Regions from separate parts of the Homo sapiens genome. Here region 1 is linked to region 2. The links are contacts of gene promoters, found by promoter capture Hi-C in blood cells and fetal thymus (Javierre and others, 2016). All regions are on one chromosome and are shown on one strand. The core of a region is centred on a gene start or on the middle of the fragment in contact, and the rest is flanking DNA. Distances in the headings are between cores, read along the strand shown.

What was found. The method cuts DNA at HindIII sites, captures the fragments that hold promoters and counts their contacts. A CHiCAGO score of 5 or more calls a contact.
Region 1: a fragment that was not itself captured here is called in contact with the fragment with the promoter of RNF157-AS1 in region 2 in 1 of 17 cell types (M1 macrophages); the score reaches 5.4 in M1 macrophages.

Annotation. Positions count from the first base shown.
Region 1 is chr17:76,440,484-76,443,183 of GRCh38, forward strand. All of the region lies in intron 1 of UBE2O (ubiquitin conjugating enzyme E2 O), which reads right to left. Among named protein-coding and RNA genes, the nearest start is that of UBE2O, 11 kb to the right of the region's middle. RefSeq lists enhancers at 568-1,085, 2,510-2,629. The HindIII fragment of the contact is 1,459 bases long and covers 594-2,052 here.
Region 2 is chr17:76,139,225-76,141,924 of GRCh38, forward strand. It overlaps RNF157-AS1 (RNF157 antisense RNA 1), which reads left to right and starts at 1,332. Exons shown (of 8, transcript NR_040017.1): 1 at 1,332-1,456. It overlaps FOXJ1 (forkhead box J1), which reads right to left and starts at 2,021. Exons shown (of 3, transcript NM_001454.4): 1 at 1,890-2,021; 2 at 674-1,340. The coding sequence starts at 1,171. RefSeq lists an enhancer at 1-447 and silencers at 859-1,048, 1,109-1,178, 1,857-2,016. The HindIII fragment of the contact is 14,991 bases long and covers 1-2,700 here.

The sequences.
Region 1 (2,700 bases), core at 73-2,572, 300 kb after region 2:
CGCTAAGATGATTTCTGTACTTTTTGAAGAGATGGGGTTTCATCATGTTGCCCAGGCTGGTCTCGAACTCCTGGCCTCAAGTGATCCGCCTGGCTTGGCCTCCCAAAGTGTTGGGATTATAGCCATGAGCCACCATGCCTGGCCTCTATTTACTTTTTTCAGCTGTGGCTCACATTGTATCTCTATTTTTCAGGATCCTTCCAGAGCAGAGGTGGGAAAACTACAGCCTGCAGGTCATGTCCAGCCTACTGCCTGTTTCTTAAAATTTTATTGGAACATGACCATGCCCATTCATTTGCTTACTGCCTCTGAATGCTTTTGTGCTATAATGGCAAAGCTGAGTTGTTGTGAAGGAGACAGTATAGCCTGCAACACTAGGACATTTATCATCTGGCCCTTTACAGAAAGTTTGGCTGGCCCCTTATCTAGAGGGCAGGGCCTGTGTGGGGGTATCTCTCTCCCCACAGCACCCAGCACAGTGCAGGGGGCACCCGTGTAGTCAGTGAAGAGAACCTGCATTCGGGCAGCACAAACTGGCCTAAGTTTGAATTTGGGTTGGCCTCCCACTTGCTATGTGGCCTTGGTGAGTTATAAGCTTTCTCTGGGTTTCAGTCTTTCCTTTTCTAAAATGGGGCACTGGCCACTTTAAGGGAAGTGAGATGACACAGGTAAAGTGTGAGTTAACATGCCTGGCTCACAGCAGGAATCCATTGACACTGGCTGGATAAAAGACAGCAATTTCATTAAAATGCTGAATAATCATTCTCCTCTTGGATTGGGTGTGTTATACTCAAAACAACTACCATATTTACATCCTAAAATGAAATGAAATCAAATGAAACTTCTTAGCAACAGCAGTGCATTAATAATAACCACCAGCAAGCAATGGGGAGGAAGAAAGAGGCAAGCCTTTCTAACACTAAAGCACTGGCGGATGATGAGTCCGCCTCATCCCTTTCCTGCCCCTCCTGCAGCCCACCTTTGGACAATTCCCGGTTCATTAACACTGGCACTAGAAGAATAAGCAGAGGGGAGAGAAAAAGCCTCGAACCAAAGACGTACTAAAACTGAACCCATTGACATCAACGAGGTTTGGAAGGGCCCATATAAGTGCAATTCAAAAGACAGTCCCAGCCAGCAGCATCAATGTCACTGGGAGTTTGTTAGACACGCAGATTCTTCAGCCCAATGGAATTAGGACAATTTGCATTAGGAGACCCTAGGTGATGGCATGTGGCATTCACCTTGGAAAAGTGCTGGATTAGAATCCATTTATTCATGCTCTCTTCACTTCCCCCTCCCCCTCCACTGATAAACAGGGGTGGTTATATCTACTTTCAATAGATGGTTCCTGACTCCTTCAAAGTAATAGGCCTGGCATAGCCACTGCAACTCCAGGCCCCGCCCCCAAGGGTCTTGGTGCAGGCAGAGTGCATAGCCTAAGCTGCGTTCCTGATTCATTTGCAGTCGGGTGGGGCATTCTTTTTCCAATAGAGAGCCTCGTTCGTACTTAGCCATCCTCCTAAGGTGAGGACTGGGTGCTGATAACCATTCAGGAAACCCACGTGTGTGGAATCTGCCATTTGTCAAGTGCTTTAGGCGGGGTTCTTACAGGGGAAATGCAGCCAGAAGCAGCTTCATTTCGACCACAGGTGACACCAGCTCTAGCTAGCTCTAGCCTAGTCCACAATGCACGTAGTCTGCCTGGGGAGCCCGCGACGGAAGTTGCCAAAGTAGTAACTACAATATGGTGTATTCTGATTAATCTGCTCTTCCTAGTATTAGGATGCCCATACGTCCCAGTCCTGGAGTAATTATTCATAGTACTCTCAAAAGAACCCAACTTGGGCAATAAATTACTGTACATGGTCAACACACCTAGTACGGGGGGTGGGAGACAGAGTGGTCTAGTAAGGGGCCCATACAGCTCCAGCACAGACCACAGGGCATCTGGAAGAAGACTAAGAATACTATTTGTAGTAAGTGGGAGGGAGCAAACTGGTCATTCATGAAGATGTTTCCCAAGAGTCTGCATGTGCGTGATAGCACACAAGCTTTAGGATTTGCTGTCTCTGTTTCTCAAGGAGCTTCCCATCCAGGAGAGAATGTGGGTGTGCCATGGGGCATGAGAGGAAGGGAACGGCACAATTGAGTTGGGGAAAAGCAGTCAGATTGGCTGGAATCAACTGAAGAGGCAGGAGATAGAGCAGGATGTGTAGGTGAGGGGCCCTGAATGACAACCAAGGCATGATCAGAGGCTGGGTCCTGACACAATCCAGGCGATCACTTGGGAGGTCAGCCCTTTGGAGGTCAGTTGGCGGCAGCGCTGTTCACTGGTTGAAGGAGGACTAGAGGCAGGGAGACCAGGGAGAAGGCTACACAGTGCAGGCATGAGGCAAGCAGAGAGCAAACCAGGGTTGTGAAAGGGAAATGCAGGCACAGGATGCAAGAGGCCTCTCAAAGAACTGATGACAAGTTAGAATGAGGGCCAAAGAAGGTAAATTAAAAATGACCCCAAATGCTCTAATTTTGAGAAGATTCAAGCTTAGGTATTTAGGGGTGAAGTGCTATCATGTCTGCCACTAACTTAGCAGGAGTTAGTACCAGACATAATTCAGGAGGAAATATATTTACATAAGCATACAGATAAGGCAAATATGGCAGGATGTTAACAACTGCTGACTCATAATGGTTGGGGGT
Region 2 (2,700 bases), core at 82-2,581:
CACCTGGCTCAGGTAATTGTCCCCCCAGGGAGGTTGGCTGACAGCGGGGGTTGGAGGCAGGAAACTGAGCAGAGGTTGAGGTGGGGGGCTGGGACAGCAGCTTTAGGAAGGCCCCTTACCCCCTCCACCCTCCATTGGGACACACCTGGCCCTCACATGCTAAGGCACCCCTTCCATTCCACCCTCCCCAAGCCAACTGCAAAAGGGCAGGACGTAGAGCCTGGCAGGGAGGCCACGTTCCAGTTTCCGTTTCTGACTCCCGGCCCCGACAAACCATCCCGGGGCAGGGCAGTGTCTAGGAATTCTAGGACTTGGGACAAGAATGCGCCTTCAGTTCATCGCTCTCCCCAAGGAGATTCTGTCCACGCAGAGTCTAGCCCTGGTCTTTGGCCTGGGCCTGCTGGATGAATGGCAGGTTATTTCCCCTTGAATCTCAGCCTCTGCACCCCTAAAGCCCTCCACCTCTGGACATTCTCCCTTCTCTCTCTCTCTCTCTCTGGAAGTCAAAGGAGGGGCAGTTGCAAGAACTGGGCTCCTTTGCAGGGCTCCCTTCTGGGGCGCTGGCCGCACCGCAGAGCCTACTTGGCCTGCAGATTTGGGATATGAATCCAGTGCAGCGTGGGGAGCGAGGAGGGAATGGGGAGGGAGCGGCCGCCGCCCGTGCCTCCTCTACCTGCCAGGTGGGATCTGCGTGGCGGAAGTAGCAGAAGTTGTCCGTGATCCACTTGTAGATGGCCGACAGGGTGATCTTGGTGGCCTTGCTGGCCTGCATGGCCATGCAGATGAGCGTGGCATACGAGTAGGGAGGCTTCACGTGCGGATTGGTGGCGTAGTCCACGTCGTCGGGGGGTGGGGCCTGCAGCCCCGGGGGCGCGCTCCGCGACGTGCACGACGACGTGGGCTTGCCCGGCGTGTGTGGCTGCCCCAGGCAGGCGGGGTCGGCCGCCAGGGGGGACCCGGGCGCCGCTGAACCTGGCACCTGGTGGTAGCCGTGGGGGTCGGTGCCCCCCGGGGGCAGGGCGGGGGCCTTGGCGTTGAGAATGGAGAATTCCTGCAGCCACTGCAGGCTGGTCAGGCTGTCATCCAGGGCGTCGGGCTCCTCCAGGCCGCCCTCCGGCCCGGCCTCCTCCGCCGGCCCGGCTCCCGAGAGGCGCAGCCAGCTCTCCGCCATGTCTGCGGGGACTCTCCGAGGGGGCGGTCAGCATCCACGGGCTGAGCCGGGGGTGGCCCGCCGCGCTCTCTGGCCCGCTGAGTCCCGCAGCTCCCGTTACACGGCCTCCCGGACGCGCGCTTCCATCTCGCGACCCCGGGGGCGCCTCCTCCGAATAAGTATGTGGTGCCTGCGAGGACCACGGTGGGAGCTGAGCACTACCCCACCCCCGAGGGGACAGTGTGTGTACGGGGACGCCCTCTCTAACATCATCCCCGCAGCTGGGGAGGATCTTTTAGTGCCGAGGTATGGGAAACAGAAGCAAGGCCCTGGGGTCCCACCCCCATCAGATCTGCCTCCCTCTTCCTTTCCTCTTCGAGGTTTTATTAGCCAAATGAAGAGGGTAGGGGCATCCGAGGCTATCCTTTTCTCCCGAAGAGCAGGAAATCAGGACCCCCTTCCTCCTCGCAACAAATGGAAGTGGGGCGAGAAGTTTGGGAGGGCGGTACGACGGGGCGGGGGCGGTGGAGGTCCTCTGATCCTTGAAAAGGAATATTATGATAGGGGATCATTGGGAAGGAAGGGGACGGAACAGTAACGGGGGGCAGGAGGCGAGTTTCCCCCAGACTTCTCCGATGTCAGTCCCTGGGCCCACCACTTCCGTTAAGGACGAATGAGAGAGCGGGTTGGTACCGTTGCCCACCCTTCCCCCTGGCCTGCAGCCCTCCCCATCCCTTACCTGGCTCAGAGCGCAGCCCGGGCCAGAGGAAGGTTCTGGAAGAAGTTGCTCCCACCCCCTGCGGCTCTCTGCCCCCAGCTCGGGGGCCCTGCCAGCGCCTCTTGCCGCCCCCCCGCCCGACGGCGCTTCTCTGAGCTACCGCGGCCCCGGGACCGGCATTAAGTAGCCGCTCCAAAGGCTTCTCCTGCTGCCATGGCGACGCTCCGCCCCCATAAACAGCTTCCGCCTCTGCCATTGGCCAGCACGTCTCCAAGGAGACCGCGGGCACTTGCCACTCTCCCTGGCGGCAACTCTCTTCGAACTCCCTCCTTCTGCCGCCCTCTCCCGCGCCACCCAACCCCCTACCCGCCGCTAAGTCCCGGCTCGGCTCATTCCCGCCCGAGGGCCCCGCGCTGGGGTCGGAGAAGCGCGCGGCCTGCGGCACCGGGAACCGCTATGGATCCGTTCGTTCTGGGGAACCAAGACTCTCGCCCCCACCCCCTTCCTGTCCCGTACGCTTTGAGGCGTCGACTGCTCCTGGGACGGAGCCTGGGGTTGGGGGGCTAAGGCTGGGAGCGGGCTCAGGCTCGGGAACCGTATCCTTGAGGTTTTCTTTCCTCTCCGCTACGAGTGGCACTTTCTCATGTTTCTGCAGCCTTTCCCTCTCCCCCGACTCTTAGGGTCTTTCTCTGGTGTCCCAGGCAGGTCTGACTTTCCGATGCCACCTGCCGCTTACATCCACAGAGGCGGCAGACACACCAAGGGGGTAGGGTAATCCAGTGTGTCCCAGTAAGCAGCTCCTTCCCCACCCGTATCCTCGAGGTTCCAGGAA